Linked DNA regions of Homo sapiens: regions 1, 2, 4, 5, 6 and 7 are each linked to region 3. The links are contacts of gene promoters, found by promoter capture Hi-C in blood cells and fetal thymus (Javierre and others, 2016). All regions are on one chromosome and are shown on one strand. The core of a region is centred on a gene start or on the middle of the fragment in contact, and the rest is flanking DNA. Distances in the headings are between cores, read along the strand shown. Region 1 has its middle 64 kb from the start of LINC00113. Region 2 has its middle 46 kb from the start of LINC00113. Region 3 holds the start of ADAMTS1 (ADAM metallopeptidase with thrombospondin type 1 motif 1). Region 4 overlaps LINC00113 (long intergenic non-protein coding RNA 113). Region 5 overlaps LINC00113 (long intergenic non-protein coding RNA 113). Region 6 has its middle 36 kb from the start of LINC00113. Region 7 has its middle 91 kb from the start of LINC00113.

Evidence for each region. Contacts are between HindIII fragments. The CHiCAGO score rates a contact against its expected background, and 5 or more counts as called.
Region 1: a fragment that was not itself captured here is called in contact with the fragment with the promoter of ADAMTS1 in region 3 in 1 of 17 cell types (M1 macrophages); the score reaches 5.4 in M1 macrophages.
Region 2: a fragment that was not itself captured here is called in contact with the fragment with the promoter of ADAMTS1 in region 3 in 1 of 17 cell types (endothelial precursors); the score reaches 5.6 in endothelial precursors.
Region 4: a contact is called between a fragment that was not itself captured here and the fragment with the promoter of ADAMTS1 in region 3, in 1 of 17 cell types (endothelial precursors). The highest score is 5.1, in endothelial precursors.
Region 5: a contact is called between a fragment that was not itself captured here and the fragment with the promoter of ADAMTS1 in region 3, in 2 of 17 cell types (monocytes and M0 macrophages). The highest score is 6.0, in monocytes.
Region 6: a fragment that was not itself captured here is called in contact with the fragment with the promoter of ADAMTS1 in region 3 in 5 of 17 cell types (monocytes, M2 macrophages, erythroblasts and 2 more); the score reaches 10.7 in monocytes.
Region 7: a contact is called between a fragment that was not itself captured here and the fragment with the promoter of ADAMTS1 in region 3, in 1 of 17 cell types (M1 macrophages). The highest score is 5.9, in M1 macrophages.

The regions. Positions count from the first base shown.
Region 1 is chr21:27,784,992-27,787,855 of GRCh38, reverse strand. No RefSeq gene overlaps it. Among named protein-coding and RNA genes, the nearest start is that of LINC00113, 64 kb to the right of the region's middle. The HindIII fragment of the contact is 929 bases long and covers 1,048-1,976 here.
Region 2 is chr21:27,767,440-27,770,196 of GRCh38, reverse strand. No RefSeq gene overlaps it. Among named protein-coding and RNA genes, the nearest start is that of LINC00113, 46 kb to the right of the region's middle. The HindIII fragment of the contact is 6,979 bases long and covers 1-2,757 here.
Region 3 is chr21:26,844,159-26,846,858 of GRCh38, reverse strand. ADAMTS1 (ADAM metallopeptidase with thrombospondin type 1 motif 1) reads left to right here and starts at 1,450. Exons shown (of 9, transcript NM_006988.5): 1 at 1,450-2,634. The coding sequence starts at 1,905. RefSeq lists enhancers at 66-665, 666-1,266. The HindIII fragment of the contact is 3,865 bases long and covers 857-2,700 here.
Region 4 is chr21:27,751,074-27,753,940 of GRCh38, reverse strand. LINC00113 (long intergenic non-protein coding RNA 113) reads right to left here. Exons shown (of 4, transcript NR_024357.2): 4 at 2,708-2,867. Among named protein-coding and RNA genes, the nearest start is that of LINC00113, 30 kb to the right of the region's middle. The HindIII fragment of the contact is 2,239 bases long and covers 305-2,543 here.
Region 5 is chr21:27,726,024-27,728,723 of GRCh38, reverse strand. All of the region lies in intron 1 of LINC00113 (long intergenic non-protein coding RNA 113), which reads right to left. Among named protein-coding and RNA genes, the nearest start is that of LINC00113, 5.0 kb to the right of the region's middle. The HindIII fragment of the contact is 629 bases long and covers 1,099-1,727 here.
Region 6 is chr21:27,685,031-27,687,756 of GRCh38, reverse strand. No RefSeq gene overlaps it. Among named protein-coding and RNA genes, the nearest start is that of LINC00113, 36 kb to the left of the region's middle. The HindIII fragment of the contact is 3,168 bases long and covers 1-2,726 here.
Region 7 is chr21:27,811,693-27,814,392 of GRCh38, reverse strand. No RefSeq gene overlaps it. Among named protein-coding and RNA genes, the nearest start is that of LINC00113, 91 kb to the right of the region's middle. The HindIII fragment of the contact is 209 bases long and covers 1,192-1,400 here.

The sequences.
Region 1 (2,864 bases), core at 263-2,762, 940 kb before region 3:
TTGAGTTTTTGTTGTTTTGTGTTGATTCTTTCTCATCTTTGTGGACTTACTTACCTTTGATCTTTGAGGTTACTGACCTTTGAATAGGGTTTTTGTGGAGTATTTTTTGTTGATGCTGTTTTTGTTTTCTGTTTGTTTGTTTTTCTTTTAACAGTCAGGCCACTCTTCTATAAGGCTGCTATGGTTTGCTGAAGGTCCACTCCAGAGCCTAGTTGCCTCGAATTTTTCCCTACCTGGAGGTATCACCAGTGAAGGCTGTGAAATGGCAAATATGGCAGCCTACTCCTTCCTCTGGAAGCTCTCTGTCCCAGAGGGGTACTGATCTGTTGCTGACCTGAATGTGCCTGGATTAGATGGCTGGAGATCCCTTTTGGGAGGTCTCAGGAGGAATGGGATCAGGGCTGTAGCTATACCATACATTGGGTATTTATTTTCTCTGGCACTATAAGTGTTCTGCATATATTTATTATGTAAAAGACTAATATGAAATAGATACAATTATTCACATTTAAACATAACAAAATTTTCTGCAAAAAAATATAAAGGGACTTTCCTATTGCACAATTAAAAGAGAGTAAGTTGGGACAAACAGTATGACTCACCTGACTCCAAAGTCCATGTGAACATATACCATGTAGTTCTTCCTATTACAGCTTATATTCTGTATCTCATTTTGCCCAAGGGGACTAAACATTGAGTGTAGGAATTTATCATATGAAGAGCATGGTCCTTGCTTAATTAAGTGTATAGAATGCCCAATCTATAGCAAGATATCCATTTACTGGCCCATGGTATATATCTGATAATTTATTGGTCAAACAATTTATTAATAGTTAAATGGAATCTGATCAATATACTTGGCTATGGCCACTGTATTAGTTCATTTCCCTTTGCTATGAAGAAATACCTGAGGCTGGGTAATTTATAACGAAAAAGAGGTTTATTTGGCTTATGGTTTTGCAGGCTGTACAAGAAGCATGGCACCAACATCTGATTCTGGTCAGGACCTCAGGAAGCATTTACTCATAGTGGAAGCCAAGCGAAGCTTGCTTGTAACATACTGAGAGACAGCAAAAAAGGGGAAGAAGGTGCCTCTCTCTTAACCACAAGATCTCATGGAAATTGATAGAGGGAGAATTTACTCATTACTAAGGGACAATACCAAGCCATTCATGGCATATCCACCCCCATGACAAAAACACCTCCCACTAGGTCCCACCTCCAACACTGGGGATCACATCTCAACAGGAAAGCTGGAGATGACAAACATACAAACTATATCAGCCACCTCGATAGTAGAGTCAGCACTAGAACCCTGAGTCATGACTTTTAGTTTGGGACTGTATGAGTTTGGATAAATTTAAGGTATTCCTTGTAAAGTACTGGCTTGAAAAAGGACATGACTTTCTGTTATGTAAATGCCTAGATAGATTTTTCCTAATTTTCTAGGTAGTTTTCCATTGTCAATAATCAGGATTTTCTACCACACACACACACACACACGCACACAAAAGTCATATTGTTAGTATTTTTTTACCCACTTCTCAATTAATTGTCTTAATTGCCTAACTGATTACTAAGTGGATCAGGTAAGGAAAGCAAAACTTTTGAGAAAACTGATGAAATTTCATCTCCTAATGAGGAGCACATGAGCCATTTAGCTTACAACAACTTGAGTTAAATTAAAATACCATTTCAAATAAAATTGTGATTATAATACACAGGATATATTAAACTTAATTATAAAGCAACCAATTTTCCCACCAATAAATGTATGATTTATTTGGGTACAGTTCAAACTTTTATTTAATAGAGGGCTTTTCCTCTTATGTCTTCAATTTCCTTGTTTCTGGGTATTCATTTATTTGTTCATTCATTTATCCAAAAAGTATTTATTGAACACTTCCTATATTCCAGGCTTTGTTGTATGTCCTGGTACTAGAACTATAAACAACACAAATTTACCTTATGAAGCTTACCTCTTATAAAAAGGTAAGATACAGTAAATGTTAGAAGGTGGTATATGTGAGAAAGAAAAATAAAGCAGGAAAAGGGAATAGAGTACTTAGTGTCAGGAGGAGAGGAGAGGTTATAATTTTTAAAATAAGGGTTAGGGAAACCCTGGCTGAGAAGGTAATACTTGAGAAAAGTTCTGAAGCAGGTGTGACATCTAACAATGTGAAGATTGGGGGGAGAAAAAAACAGTAGGTTCAGAAGCCTTAGACTGAAGAATACCTGGAAATGTGTGTTTATAGTGGACAGAGCAAGTAGGAGAAAAGCAGATGAGATCTGAGAATAAACAGTGACTTAGGCCAAGTACACAGGTCGTAGCAAGGATTTGGGCTCTTAATTTGAGTGAACAGGGAAGCCATTCTGAGCCAAACAGTTACCTGAGCTGACTTATATTTATAAAAGTTTACATTGCCTGTTCTGTTGAGATAGACTGTAGTTTGCGTAGATTGCAGAAGGAAAAATGCTTAAGGTAATGTTATTCAGCTGACAGATGATAGTGGTTTGTACCAGAATGTTAGCAGGAAAAATGGTGTAATATTATTAGATTCTGGACCCTTTTGAACATAGATCCCAAGATTTAACGGTGCCAAAGAAGCACTCACAGAGTCCTAAAAGAATTGTAACAGAAGCTAAGGGAAGACAGTGGTCCCACAGAAAAAAAGAAAGACGAGAAGAGAAGAAGACAAGAGGAAAAGAAAACAATCTCAGTGTAATCAACGTGGTAGAGTGATGCTGAGATGATACTAATTTGTGTATTTCATTTTTCTCACTGGACAGTTAGAGTTCTGATTTGAAGCTGATTTTAAAGATTGTGTTTGTGTGTGTGTGTGTGTGTGTGTGTGTGTGTGTGT
Region 2 (2,757 bases), core at 14-2,513, 920 kb before region 3:
CTTTTCTTCCTGTGCATGAAATGGAAAGTTCTCAGGCTGCCTGAAGCTCACACAGCCAGACTTTTCACTCCCGAGAACCTTTCCCGGTTTTGTACCTGGCCTGAGTCTTGTCTCTGTACTGTCCTTCTACTTTTTCTCAACCTTTAGAAAGTTCTACCAAAACCAAGTTAAAGTGTCACTTCCTCTGTGTAGCCTTTTCTGGCTCCCAAGGTACTTCCCTCTTTTGTTTTCCATCAACTGTTGCCCCACATTTTATTAAGTCTACAGCAATGCATTATGCATATCTCTTTACACATTTGTCTTGCCAACTATTCTGTGGCCTAGTCAAGAGCAGACTATGGCTTAGGTTTTTTTTTTTTTTTTTTTTTTTTTACAACTCCATATACAGACTATTAAAATGCCTAGGGAATAAAGAAGTCACTATAAATGTTTTTCTCATGTATTATTGGTACGATACATAATAGAAAATGTAAACATCCCCCTAGGTAGAAGCCATCTATTTTGTTAGTGGTGAGAAGATTATATTAATAATTCTTTTTTAAAATTTATTTATTATATTTTAAGTTCTGGGATACATGTGCAGAATGTACAGGATTGTTATGTAGGCATTAAAGAATTATATTAATATATGAATTAATATATGAATTAAAGAATTATGAAGTCTTTGCCCATGCCTATGTCCTGAATGGTATTGCCTAGGTTTCCTTCTAGGGTTTTTATGGTTTTACATCTTACGTTTAAGTCTTTAATCCATCTTGAGTTAATTTTTATATAAGGTATGAAGAAGGGGTCCAGTTTCAGATTTCTACATATGGCTAGCCAGTTTTCCCAATACCATTTATTAAATAGGGAATCTTTTCCCCATTGCTTGTTTTTGTCAGGTTTGTCAAAGATCAGATGGTTGCAATGTGTGGCGTTATTTCTGAGGCCTCTATTCTGTTCCATTGGTCCGTATATCTGTTTTGGTACCAGTACCATGCTGTTTTTGTTACTGTAGCCTTGTAGTACAGTTTGAAGTCAGGTAGCACGATGCCTCCAGCTTTGTTCTTTTTGTTTAGGATTGTCTTGGCTATACAGACTCTTTTTTGGTTCCATATAAAATTTAAAGTAGTTTTTTCTAATTCTGTGAAGAAAGTCAATGGTAGTTTGATGGGGATAACATTGAATCTATAAATTACTTTGGGCAGTATGGCCATTTTCACAATATTGATTCTTCCTATCCATGAGCATGGAATGTTTTTCTGTTTGTTTGTGTCCTCTCTTATTTCCTTGTGCAATGGTTTGTAGTTCTCCTTGAAGAGGTCCTTCACATCCCTCGTAAGTTGTATTCTCTTTGTAGCAATTGTGAATGGGAGTTCACTCATGATTTGGCTCTCTGTTTGTCTATTATTGGTGTACAGGAATGCTTGTGATTTTTGCACATTGATTTTGTATCCTGAGACTTTGCTGAAGTTGCATGACTAAAAAACCAAAGCAATGGCAACAGAAGCCAAAAATTGACAAATGGGATCTAATTAAACTAAAGAGCTTCTGCACAGCAAAAGAAACTATCGTCAGAATGAACAGGCAACCTATAGAATGGGAGAAAATTATTGAAATCTATCCGTCTGTCGAAGGGCTAACATCCAGAATCTACAAAGAACTTAAACAGATTTACAAGAAAAAAAACAAACGACCCCATCAGAAAGTGGGTGAAGGATATTAACAGACACTTCTCAAAAGAAGACATTTATGTGGCCAACAAACATATGGAAAATTTCATCATCACTGGTCATTACAGAAATGCAAACCAAAACCACAATGAGATACCATCTCACGCCAGTTAGAATGGCGATCATTAAAAAGTCAGCAAACAACAGATGCTAGAGAGGATGTGGAGAAATAGGAATGCTTTTACACTGTTGGTGGGAGTGCAAATTAGTCCAATCATTGTGAAATACAGTCTGGTGATTCCTCTGGGATCTAGAACCAGAAATACCATTTGACCCAACAATCCCATTACTGGTTGTATACCCAAAGGATTATCAATTATTCTACTATAAAGACACATGCACATGTATGTTTATTGCAGCACTGTCACAATAGCAAAGACTTGGAACTAACCCAAATGCCTATCAATGATAGACTGAATGAAGAAAATGTGGCACATATACACCATGGAATACTATGAAGACATAAAAAGATGAGTTCATGTCCTTTGCAGGAACACGGATGATGCTGGGAACCATCATTCTCAGCAAACTAACGCAAGAACAGAAAACCAAACACCACATGTTCTCACTCATAAGTGGGAGTTGAACAATGAGAACACATGGACACAGGGAGGGGAGTATTACATAGTGGGGCCTGTCAGGGGGTAGAGGGCTAGGGGAGGGACAACATTAAGAGAAATACCTAATGTAGATGATAAGTTGATGGGTGCAGCAAACCACCATTGTATGTGTATGCCTATATAACAATCCTGCACATTCTGCACATGTATCCCAGAACTTAAAATGTAAGAAATAAATTTAAAAAAAGAATTATTAATATAATCTTCTCACCACTAACAAAATAGATGGCTTCTACCTAGGGGGATGTTTACATTTTCTATAATGTACCAATAATACATGAGGAAAACATTCTTAGTAATTAATAATGTTAACAAAGTTTATGTGGGCTGCGATTAATGGAAGTAACTGAAAAAATCTTTTAAATTACTTCATAAACGGACATAGTCATGAACAACTTCAATAGTAGCCTCGTGCTGCGATAACC
Region 3 (2,700 bases), core at 201-2,700:
TGGAAAGCATCCGGAAAAGAAAGCTTGTAAGAGGGACGTGTGGGAGAACTAGAAGGGACGCTTCTGGCTGGGGCCAACTGAAGTGGGGAAGATCTGGGGAGGAGCGAGGAAAGGACCCAGATCTACTTGGAGCCAACCAAGAGACCGGACGGGAGTGGGGCGGAAAGGCGGAGACCAGTTCGAGCACTAACGCGGGGGCGCGCGAGTGTGAGGGTTGCGGGTCCGCCCGGGGCTAGGGCGGTCGCTCTCGCCATTGTCCCCGCGGCTTTCCGCCTGTGAAACACGTCCTTCCTCTGGGTCCTTGAGCCCCTCCCACTTTTTGGAGAGAAGAGCCACTCAGTTTTTTTTCCTAAGGACCTGTTGGTGGACCTCTCCTCGCTTTCGTAACGCGGATATAGCCTTTTCCCTTCCTGGTAGGAAGAGGAAGGAGGGGTCCGGGAAGGAAGCCGATTTCCTTCTTTCCCCCTCTGCACGCTTGCTAGCCCCAGCGATCGCTGCTGGCCCCCGGGTAGGAAAGTGGGGTTCCTGGCCGTTTCTGCGACGCTGGCCTAGGGCTTGCAGCTGCTGTTGAGTGAAAGCACGCAGACTGGCGGGAGCCGATCATTTCTCGAATGAAGAAGAAAAAGCGCAATTCCCTCCTTATGCTCTAGGGAATTGAGCCGCGTCCCAGATCACCCATTCCAGAAATGTGAAACCGGGCCCTCACAAAGTCGTCTCTGGTGAAGAGGTGGCGTGCGGGGTGGGGGTTGGTGGAGGGTGAAGGCATAAGCAAACATATTTTAAAATCCAGATCGTAGGAAGTGTCACCTGGCCCCTCACCCAGGCATGCTTTCTGGGGGAAGCGCAGGGCCAAGCTTTCCCTAGAAAAGCTGGGGCGAAGAGAGAGCAGGCGGCGGCTAAGGAGCTCCTGGCAGGCTGGGAAGGTGGAGAAGTGGGGTGAGGTATTTTTCTAGAAAGTGTAGCCCTAGCTCATCTCCTAGATTGGGGAAGAGGGAACTGAGGGAGGAGGGAAGGAGACCCAGGGCAGCTCCAGGATAGGGAAATGTTGAAGAAGGGACTGCGTTCTCCAACCGAACCCTCCCTCCTGGGAACCGCAGCCCAGCGCGGTAACTGAGTTACCGCAACCGGGCGGTGGGGAGGAAGGGTGGTCCAGGAAACCGGCGAGGGAGAAAAGCGGTGGAAGGGAGAGTCTTCTCCCTGGAGCGGCCCCAGCAGTACAAAGTGCTGGTCACAGCGCCCCTTCCGCCCCTAGATTGACGAGCAGTGGCGTGGAGCCAGCGCGGAGGCTGCCCCCTCCCCCTCCCGAGCCCGCAGCGCGGAGCGCGGTTTAGCACCAACGGAGCCGGGGGCGGCGTCTTTGGGATGGAAAAGGGCCAAAGGGGAGGAGTGGGGTGGGGGTGGGGGTTTCACTGGTCCACTATAAAAGGACCGCTCGGCTGCCCGGTTCTTGCACTCGCTGGAAAGCGGCTCCGAGCCAGGGGCTATTGCAAAGCCAGGGTGCGCTACCGGACGGAGAGGGGAGAGCCCTGAGCAGAGTGAGCAACATCGCAGCCAAGGCGGAGGCCGAAGAGGGGCGCCAGGCACCAATCTCCGCGTTGCCTCAGCCCCGGAGGCGCCCCAGAGCGCTTCTTGTCCCAGCAGAGCCACTCTGCCTGCGCCTGCCTCTCAGTGTCTCCAACTTTGCGCTGGAAGAAAAACTTCCCGCGCGCCGGCAGAACTGCAGCGCCTCCTTTTAGTGACTCCGGGAGCTTCGGCTGTAGCCGGCTCTGCGCGCCCTTCCAACGAATAATAGAAATTGTTAATTTTAACAATCCAGAGCAGGCCAACGAGGCTTTGCTCTCCCGACCCGAACTAAAGGTCCCTCGCTCCGTGCGCTGCTACGAGCGGTGTCTCCTGGGGCTCCAATGCAGCGAGCTGTGCCCGAGGGGTTCGGAAGGCGCAAGCTGGGCAGCGACATGGGGAACGCGGAGCGGGCTCCGGGGTCTCGGAGCTTTGGGCCAGTACCCACGCTGCTGCTGCTCGCCGCGGCGCTACTGGCCGTGTCGGACGCACTCGGGCGCCCCTCCGAGGAGGACGAGGAGCTAGTGGTGCCGGAGCTGGAGCGCGCCCCGGGACACGGGACCACGCGCCTCCGCCTGCACGCCTTTGACCAGCAGCTGGATCTGGAGCTGCGGCCCGACAGCAGCTTTTTGGCGCCCGGCTTCACGCTCCAGAACGTGGGGCGCAAATCCGGGTCCGAGACGCCGCTTCCGGAAACCGACCTGGCGCACTGCTTCTACTCCGGCACCGTGAATGGCGATCCCAGCTCGGCTGCCGCCCTCAGCCTCTGCGAGGGCGTGCGCGGCGCCTTCTACCTGCTGGGGGAGGCGTATTTCATCCAGCCGCTGCCCGCCGCCAGCGAGCGCCTCGCCACCGCCGCCCCAGGGGAGAAGCCGCCGGCACCACTACAGTTCCACCTCCTGCGGCGGAATCGGCAGGGCGACGTCGGCGGCACGTGCGGGGTCGTGGACGACGAGCCCCGGCCGACTGGGAAAGCGGAGACCGAAGACGAGGACGAAGGGACTGAGGGCGAGGACGAAGGGGCTCAGTGGTCGCCGCAGGACCCGGCACTGCAAGGCGTAGGACAGCCCACAGGTAGAAGAATTGCTCTCGTTTGTCTGTCCATTCATCCTCCTCTCCTCACTTTATCTATCCCACGCG
Region 4 (2,867 bases), core at 175-2,674, 910 kb before region 3:
TTCAATTTAGAAGAAAAAGGATACTACTATTTGGATTTGGCTTTGAAAATCAAATACACGTGATGTGAACAGAAAGAAGAGACATCCAAAACATACGTAAGCCATATAAAGAGGGAAAATAGAAACATCATGCAGAACCACAGAGGAAGAGAAAAGAAGGCAGATGCAGAAGGAGAATGTAAGAATGATGCATGAAAAATGAAGAAATGAGAAGAGCAGCAGGGAGGAAGGGGGGAAGAAATATCAGAGTATTAAAGGAGTTTTCTCAGTTGCTACATCATCATTATTTTGTATGTTATAAGCTTCTCTTATTATTGCCCCTTGAAGAGATCTTTACTCAATGAAATACTACTCTACAACTTCCATTATATCTCAAAATTCTATAGTTCCTCCTTGAATAGGGGTAACCATTGTAGTTTTCTCAAGGAAATATGTTTATTGACTATAAGAATATTGGCCAGAGTAATGGTGAGCCTTTGTGGTTTTCATATTCCCATCATCCACATAGTAAATAAATATTTACTTTGATTTTCAAAATTGATGCTAATTAATATATGTGAATATATTAAGAAGAAGCCAGAAGGTAAGTGATCAGCTTCTCCTTAGAGGAAAAAAAATATTTTGCATCTTCTTGCAACTTAGAGTTGAAGATTTTATTCATTATCTCGATGCTATACGATTCATACAATCTTTGGTCACTTTAATTTATGGTTAAAGTTAAGAAAGTAATTCTTATGGGAAGACAGTTGTATCCTGAATTATATTTATTTCAGAAATCAAGGATGCAATGTAAAATGTTTCAGATTTCATTTTTAAGGATCATATTCTGAAGTCGAGGCAAATATCTGCTGTTTCTTACAAATGATTTTCTAAGTTGAACACAGTTATGTAGTACATTGCAAAGCAAACTTTTTCTTGATAAATTTAATTTTCATGTGCCTTTTCACTGACTAGGCTCAATGTTGATTCTGATCCTAGTTGCAACATAGTTTGCTTATTAGTTAGGTCTAGCTATAATGAATTGCTTTTAAAATAAAAGATACAACAAATAAATGCTTTTATAATGGTTGATTTTCATTCTATAAGCATTGATATAAACTTAGTGAATTCTTATTCCTCCAACATTTTTAGATTGATTTAAATGCATTTGTCAATTATTTTCCTATCATCCTTATATAAAAGAACTCTGATTATGGGATAATATATTCTAAGCATTGTGATGGAGGCAGTCACCCAGTGCCTAGTGTTGTATGTATGGATTTGGTAACATAAAAATTCATTCTTCTTTCTGAAACATTTTATAAAATTCTCTGAAGTACAGCTACAGTAGCCAGGCTTATTAAACCAAAATACATAGTTTTTAAATATTTTATCAGGCAAACCTAAGTACAGAAACTTTAATCAATTTAACCTTTGTAATTAGTCAGTGTGACCTAGCAAATTCCTTTATATTTCAAGGTTAAAAGTTATTCATTCAAATGAGAAGATAAGTATATTATCACTTGTTAAATATTATATGCCAGGTATTGTTGTATGTGGAACTTTTAGACCATAATACTTCCATCCTGATCACAATCCTAAGTGATGAGTACTGGTATAAGAAAATCTACTTAAACGTTTATGTTAATTATTCAAAGTTACACAGCAAGAAAGCAGTGTGCTCACCTTTGCACTCAACTCTATTGGATTCCAATGTCTTCACTGATGCATAAGAAATTAGCCATTGCCTTTCAAATTCCACTTGTTCTCTTTTTCTTTCACAAACTGACTTTGTGAAAGTAAATCAGTGCAAACATTTTCTCCCATTCTGTAGGTGGTCTGTTTACTCTGCAGACAGTTTCTTTTGCTGTGCAGAGTTCTTCAGTTTAGTTAGGTCCCATTTGTCAATTTTTTGTTTTCTTGCAGTTGCCTTTGGCATTTTTCTCATGAAATCTTTGCTCATGGCCTATGTCCCGAATGGTATTGCCTCAGCTGTCTTTCAAGGTTTTCTTAGTTTTGAGTTTTACATTTAGGTTTTTAATCTCTTTTGATTTAATATTTGTATGTGGTGTAAGGAAGGGGTCCAGTTTCAATTTTCTACATATTGAGAAGTGAAGCCAGCTGGACTTCCTGGGTCAAGTGGGGACTTGGAGAACTTTTCTATCTAGCTAGAGGATTGTAAACGCAATCAGCGCTCTGTGTCTAGCTCAAGGATTGTAAATGCACCAATCAGCACTCTGTAAAAATGCACCAATCAGCACTCTGTGTCTAGCTAAAGGATTGTCAATGCACCAATCAGCACTCTGTAAAAACGCACCAATCAGCGCTCTGTGTCTAGCTAAAGGAAAATAAACGCACTGATCAGCCCTCTGTAAAAACGCACCAATCAGTGCTCAGTGTCTAGATAAAGGATTGTAAACACACCAATCAGCACTCTGTAAAATGGACCAATCAGGGCTCTGTAAAATGGACCAGTCAGCAGGATGTGGGTGGGGCCAAATAAGGGAATAAAAGCTGGCCACCTGAGCCAGCAGCGGAAAGTGCCCTTCCATGCTGTGGAAGCTTTGTTCTTTCGCTCTTCACAGTAAATCTTGCTGCTGCTCACTCTTTGGGTCTGCAACACCTTTATGAGCTGTAACACTCACTGCAAAGGTCTGCGGCTCCATTCTTGAAGCCAGCGAGACCAAGAACCCACTGGAAGGAATAAATTCTAGACACAATATGGCCAGCCATTTCTCCCAGCACCATTTATTGAACAGGGAGTCCTTTCCCCATTGCTTTTTGTCAGGTTTGTCGAAGATTGGATGGTTGAAGATGAGTGATCTAATTTCTGGGTTCTCTATTCTGTTCCACTGGTCTATGTGTCTGACGAAGGTCTAATATCCAGC
Region 5 (2,700 bases), core at 164-2,663, 880 kb before region 3:
AGGTATGGTAAAAATAAAGTATAAAAGATAAAAACTGGTACACTTGTATAGGGCACTTACCTTGAACGGAGCTTGCACGATTGGAAGTTGCTCTGGGTGAGTCAATGAAGCACTAGTGAGTGAATGTGAAGGCCGAACACATCACTGCACTCTACTGTAGACTAGATACACATTGTACACTTCAGCTACACTAAACTTATCAAAAATATTTTTCTTCAATCATAAATTCAACTTAGTTACTACAACATTTTGACATCATAAAGTAGGTATATTTACATCAGCACCACTACAGGCACGTGAGTAATGCATCACACTGCATTACAACGGCTATAAATTTTTGAGCTCCATTATAATGCTATGGGACCACCGTTATGTATGCAAAACAGAAACAACTTTATGCAGTACATGGCTGTATTTTGAAGCTCTGTTAATTAAGTATGCAAACATGTATGATTGTTATGTCTTAATGAAATGCTGCGCTTTATTTCAGGTAATGTTTATTGTACTGGAGCATACTTTGATATTACAGTATTCATACAATTTACATTTTTACATTTTAGATAGTATATCTTTTTCCATGTTTTATGTTTTAGTCTATTTGTGCCCTATATTAAATATACATATCTTTAAAGAGGATATTTGCTGCAAATATCCTGAACCTAAAACAAAGTTAAAAAAACAAAAGAGGTCTTTTGGTCTTGCTTGTTTTAGTCTACCTGTTTCTTTATGTTAAATATACATATCTTTTAAAGAGGATGTTTGGATCTTGATTATTTTATTAAATCTGACAATATAACAACAGCTAATGTAATAATTAGTATAGTTGGGTTACATTTGTAATTTTTCTAATCTCCATTAGCTAATTTTCTGTAATTGTGTTTTCATTTCTTCCGATTTTGTTTTGCTGTTCTTCCTTTTCTGCCTTCTTCTGGGTTATGTTAATCTTTCAGTGTTACATTTTACTTCTACCATTGACTTTTTGGCTATGCCATTTTGTGAATTGTAGTGCTTACTATAGGGATTACAGTAGGCATCTTTCACTTACTGTAAGCTACTTAGAGTTAATATGGCAGCATTTAATTTGAAGTGTGAGAAGCTTGAAATGATATTGTACGTAAGATGTATATATAAGACCATATATCTATTCTTTGTATTGCTCTTACAAGTGGGTAGTTAGATATGAGCAGGGTAGGAGAGCCCCTTCCCCCTGTCCCAAACAGGAATGTCAGGGGACCATCAAGTGAAGGTCAGGGAGCTGTTATACTGTTTCTCTAAAATAATAATTGGTTATAGCCAGTGCCGGGGAAAGGCAGTCTTCCAATAAGCAGAAACACCTGAGACTGGTGATCAGCAGCTTCCCAATAAGATCTCAGGAGCTGGGTGACTGGGCTCAAATATGCACACTAAGAGGCAAAATTGTGGAGTTTAACTGGTATATGTCCTTCTAGGGATATTTGGCTGGTTAGGGAAGGACACCTCAAGTGAGCATGCATGCATATACAATAAACATGCTGTGCCTGCTCACCTCCCAAGTGCTGGCAGGCCCCTGCACATGCGGGCAGCCCACCCCTAGGGAAGAATCAGGGAGAAGAGACTCAAGAACCAGGAAGCATGTCAACATATCAAACTCCAAGTCAAAAGGACAAACCACACACTTGATCCCGCCAGTCGCCCACTTGGCCCTCTTCCAAGTGTACTTTACTTTCTTTCATTCCTGTTCTAAAGCTTTCTAATAAACTTTCACTCCTGCTCTAAAACTTGTCTGTATCTCTCCTTCTGCCTTATACCTCCTTGTTTGAATTATTTCTTCTGAAGAGGCAAGAATTGAGGTTGCTGTAGACCCATAAGGATTTACTGCTGGTGACATACTTTGGTGCCGTGACACAGATATGTTTTGCTGGGAACATATTTTTGTGCCATGTGACTCAGATACCTTCCACTGCTAACATACTTTGGTGCCATGGGTCTCTAATACGTTTGGCCATTAACATATTTTGTTTCCATGACTTCGACATGGTCTTCAATGGTAAGAGATCTTTATTCCTCACTTGCTTCGGTGGGAGGTGTTCAACACCCATACACAGTTTTCTTCTCCCCTTCTTTCTCCTGCTTACTAACAAACCCCCAGAACAATTCCTCTTGGCCATAAGTGACTCTGCTCACACACACCCACCAGGCTGATCTCTCAGCTGACCCTGACTGGCAGCTTGCAGAGGTGGGAATAACCTTGGGGTTTACACTGAGTAGATCTGAGATGCTAATGGCCCTCCTGGACAGGAGGCTTGTGAGAAAGGTAGGGCTAAAGCCTAAAACCGTGCAATGTCTAGGGTTTCCTCTACCTTTTCAACTAAAATCAGCTCTTTCCAAAAACGCAAACAGCATATTCTCCTGTTTTCTCTGCATGTATTCTGAAATGGCCTTGCACACCCACAGGACTATCTGCTTTGGAGGCAAGTCTGCCTCTTTGCTTTCACTTCACATGCCACATGAATTTTTAAACACACCCTGTTATTTGTGCACCCATGGCTCTTGCTGCATTTGTCTGGCAGCAAAGACACAGGCTGCCTTGCAGAAATACCCTGAGATTTATACTTGTGTTTACCCTACTAGCTCAGATGACCACAAACCCTTCCCTTGTCTGCTGACACATTTCCAGGACAGACACTACTTGGAACCCCAGCTCTGCCAGCTCCTTATGAC
Region 6 (2,726 bases), core at 1-2,500, 840 kb before region 3:
TTATGTCAGAAACTTAGATCTACATAAAAAAAGGTGTTGGAAGGGTAAATGAAAGTAGAATAAAAACCGTATTTTTTTTTTTTTTGAGACAGAGTCTTGCTCTGTCGCCCAGGCTGGAGTGCAGTGGCGTGATCTCGGCTCACTGCAAGCTCCGCCTCCCGGGTTCACGTCATTCTCCTGCCTCAGCCCCCCGAGTAACTGGGACTACAGGCAGCCGCCACCGAGCATGGCTAATTTTTCTTGTATTTTTAGTAGAGACAGGGTTTCACCGTGGTCTCGATCTCCTGATCTCGTGACCCGCCCGCCTCGGCCTCCCAAAAACCGTATTTTTTCTTAATTTTAATTGATCTAAAAGACAGGTATTTTAAGCAATAATAGTAACAATGTTTTGTGTGACTATGCCAAGTAAAATTCAATAAATGACAGAAATGTCATAAAGGTTACATTTCCATGAAGTGTAGTTATGTGTAATGTTAAAAATAAATATCATAGGTTCTTGAAAAGCACACAATTATTAAACAATGAAATATAATTGATATACTAAGAATAAAAAAATCAGAAGAATTGAATTATAGAAAATATTCAATTAAAAGTAGAGAAGGCAGATAAACAAGGAAAAGAGAAACATAGAACAAATACAATGGAATAGAAAAAAATATAAACATATTAGCATACAGACATGTTATCTGTTAATCCTTCTATATCAATAAGCACCTTAAATATGAATAAATGCGCCAATTAAACAACAGAGATTGTGAGAGTGGATTAAAATAACAACTCAAGACCCAATGAACTATATGTTGTTAATGAGAAACCCCATTTTAAAAATAAACATTCAACCAGATTAAGAGTAAAGTATAAACAAAGATATCCTGTGTTAAAAATAATCAGTAGAAAGCTGCAGTAGATAGCTGCATATCGGACAGCTGACTTCAGAACAGGAAAAACTATCAGCAATAAGGAGAGACATTACATAATTGCAAAAATGTCCATTTTTCAAAAAGACAACAATCTTAAATACGTATACCTCTAAAAAGAGTGTCAACATACACGAAACAATGCGGATAGAATTGAAAGGTAAAAAAGGCAAAACAATTATTGCACATGAAGAATTCAACATGACGTGTTATAATTAATAGGATCAAGTAGGCAAAACACAAGTAAAAATATAGTTGACCTGAGTAACGCTATCAGTAAGCTGACCCGATTGACATTTAAAGACTATTCTACCCAACATTAAAATAAACATTCTTTTCCATTTCACATGGAACATTTACCAAGATAGACAATATGTAGGGTAATAAAACACACCTTCTGAAATTTAAAATATAAGAAATTATACAAAGTATGTTTTCAGATTACATGGAATTCAGCAAGGAAGCAATCACAGACCTGAAAATTCTCAAATATTTTGATGTTAAAAAATAGAACTGCTAAATAAATCTTGAGCCAAGAAAAGATCTCAAAAGAAATAAAAAATAGTTAAAACTAAATGAAACTAAAAATATAACATCAAAATTTATAAAATATAATGAAAAATAAGTGATGGTTATTGGAAAATTTCTAGCATGAAATAAATATGCTAAAAAAGAAAGATCTAAAATAAATAACCTATGTTTAAACTTTTAAAAACTGTAAAAAGAGGAAAAGACTAACCCTGATGCAAGAAAATACACGATATAATAAGAATTACAGAAGAAAAATATATAATTGAAACAGGATAACAATAGAGAAAATTAATGAAACAAAATCTGATTCATGGAAAAGATCAAGAAAATTTGTAAATATCTAGCCAGGCTAACCAAGAAAAAAAGAAAGATACAACTTACCAATATCAGAAATGAGGGCATGGTCATCACTACTGATCCATGGAAAGTAATACAAAAATAAAGCAATACTACTGATAGGTGTTCACCCACCAATTTCATAACTTTGATGGAATGGACCTATTCCTTGAAGGACAAAAACTATAAGAAAGAGAAATAAATACTCTAAATTGTCCTATAAATATAAAAAGGGTTAAATATATAATTAATAACCTTTGAAAAAAGAAAGCACCAGGCCTGTTGGTTCACTGGTTAATTCTATCAAACATGTAACAATGCAATCATACCAATTTTCTACAATCTTCCAGAAAATAGGAGGAATAACATTTCCTATTTATTCTATGAAACCACAATTAACCTAATACCAAAAAACAAATAGATAATTGTAAGCAAAGAAAAATACTGATCAATACTTTTCATGAATGTAGAGGTCAAAATTCTCAATAATATACTATCAGACTAAATCCAACAAATGTATAAAAATAATTTTGCATCAAAATCAAATATGATTTATTTCAGGTGTGGAAGGCTAGTTCAACTTTTGAAAATCGATCAATATGATCTACCTTATCAACAAGCTAACAAAGAAAAATTATATGAGCCTCTCATTTGAGGCAGAAATGTAAATTAACAAATTTCAATACCCATTCATTATGAAAGAAAAAAAGTTACAGAACTGTAAATGGAACATATAGAAAGGTACAAAACTATACATATAAAATATATTTTGTAGAACATACACAAATAAATGTATATGCACAGAAAAACTAACTGGCAGTGTTGTTTTTGGTTGCCTTGAGTATCCTTAAACCTTGGGTTTGTACTTTCTTGTGTTTTTCTGGGTAAATGGGTCATTAGCTTTCATCCTAGACTAAGAAATTTTCACAATCCAAAAAGGTT
Region 7 (2,700 bases), core at 47-2,546, 970 kb before region 3:
TGTGTATATGTGTGTGTGTGTGTGTGTGTGTATATGTGTGTGTATATATATGCTCCAGTCAGGCAATCCCTCTATTTGTCATGGTTTCTTTTAACATCTGATAGATGATTTCTCATGAAAAACATTTTCAACGTTATTCAGGTATTATTGTTATCTGCTGAGATAACGTTGAGGTCCATACACATATTAAAAAAAAAGTCGGTTTATTCTTTTTTCCAAGTAAAGAAAGATGTCATTTCGCACATGTCATTTATTCAGGCTTATTCAGAGTGGGGGAAGTGTTCTGTTTGCCTTAGAAAAAAAGTAAGGAAAAATCTATGACTCTGGCTTTTTTTTTTTTTCCCCCTCAACACTGCTTTCTCAACCAAAATGAGCATGTGGTAAAGTGCTTGTGGCACAGACACTGGCCTATTCTTCTCGTGGAAAAAGGCGCTGCTGTTTTACAGTGGCCTGGAGGCTGGGCGTGGTTCCCTGCCGGGGGCTGCGTTCTAATGGCTTCTCCAAGCAAGACGCAGGATCTGCAGAGCCGCGTGGACTGACTCTGGTCACCATTTGTTTTTCTCCAACCTAGAGCTGAGGACTTTTGCTCTTTCCAGCCTTCCTCTCTTTTTCCTTTTCCCCTCTCTCTTTTCCTCATAACCAGAGGCTTTGCACAAAATTTCTTTGAGATTTCCCCTTGCAGTCAGAAAGCACAGTTGTCTTATATTTTTATTCAGTTAACATAATGGAGATGAGCCAGGTTTTTATATTTAAACTCACAGATTTTTAGGCTACATACAGGATCCTCATTCATCTGCTGTTGCTGTATTATTTATTGTTAATATTAGCCATATGATTTAGTGTGAAAAGTGTTTACAGCAGTGTTAGGCTCTGAAACAAATCTTGGCTCTCCTACTTAAGGAACTTGTAAACTTTTCTGTGCCACTATTCCTAGATCTGCAAAATGCAAGAGTGAGATAAATGTAAGATTATGTGGGAGAGTCACCAGCTTATACTCAGCTCTCAACACTTTTTTTTTGTTGTCTGTGTTATTACGAAAGTAATTATAAAATATATGTGATACAAGTGAAGATATCTTGTGTTTCTTCTAAAATATTAATACATAAAATATTTACTCCATCTAAATGCACTTTATTTCACTATAGTAAAATACTGAATAAGGATGTATTTTGGCACTAGAGAAATCAAGCTTATTTTAAATCAGATAAAATTTAGAGGTAAACGATCATATAAATAATTTCCTAAAATGAAAGAAAAAAAGACAAGATTTGGGGAGGACCCTAATGCCAAGCACTTTATAGCTATAATTTGCAAATAGATTCTTAAGTTTAGAAATTTATTTTAAAATCTCAGAAAGTAAGAATTTATTTCACAGGGCTAAATTCTTGCTATTCAAAGCTTGGCCCCAGACTAGCAGTATGGGAATCACCTGGGAGCTTGTTAGACTCTCAGGCTCAAAGCAGGACCCACATATCCGAATCTGGATTCATATTTAACCATATGCACAATATTACACCTGTAGATTGACATCCTATCTACCATTACTTGAATATACCAAACAATAAGTAAAGCTCTGTCTTGAGGCAACTAGAACCACTAGTGATGATCTAATTGCTGAAAATATCATTCATGTCTGTAAGATAATGTTTCTTGTCTAAAGGATAAAAATACCTGCTCTTCTGTAAATTTTTCTAATTTAGTTATGTTGTCCTCTGACTTCTCAACAAACGGCCACATTACCTTTCAGAAAGCTGCCAGTAAGGAATAAAGAAATCATATCTTTAATTAGTTATTTTTGTTTTATACAAGGGATGGGCATGGTACTGCCTGGGGGCCATGTATGACTAGCTGCCTCATTTTATAAATAACATTGTATAGAAACACCACATGCCCTTTGGTTTACACATTGCCTCTGACTGGTTTCCTGTTATGTGGAAGAGTTGAGTAGTTGCAACACAAACAACTATGACCCACAAAACCTAAAGTATTTGCTCTCTGTCCCTTTACATTAAAAAAAAAAAGGGGGGGTATGGTTTGGCTGTGTCCCCACCCAAGTCTCATCTTGAATTGTAGCTCCCGTAGTTCCTATGTGTCGTGGGAAGGATCCGGTGGAAGGTAGTTGAATCATGGGGGCAGGTCTTTCCTGCACTGTTCTCGTGATGGTGAATGGGTCACAGGAAAATGGATAGGTTTAAAAACAGGAGTTTCTCTGCACAAGCTCTCTTTTTGCCTGCCTCCATCCACGTAAGATGTGACTTTGCTCCTCCTTCGCCTTCCGCCATGATTGTGAGGCCTTTTCAACCATGTGGAACTGTGAGTCAATTAAACCTTTTTCCTCTATAAATTACCCAGTCTCAGGTATGTCCTTATTAGTAGCAGGAGAACAAACTAACACAAAAAGTTTACTGAATCCTGGTCGACACTAAGCATTGTTTCTTCTACAACAAATCTTTGTGAAACCTCATGTGTGTCTCAGGCCCTGTGCTAGAGAGCCTGGGATTTCAGAAATGGAAAGAGACTACCTTCAAGAAGATCATCCTGAGCATATTCTTCTTTTTATACTCCTACTTGTAAATATCATCTTAAAATATGTAATGCCTAGAGTTAATCTTCAAATGAGATTCAATGAATAGAGAATATCAATGTCTTTATTAACACAGAATGTTGTACACAAATACCCATTATCATATGCATTTGCTA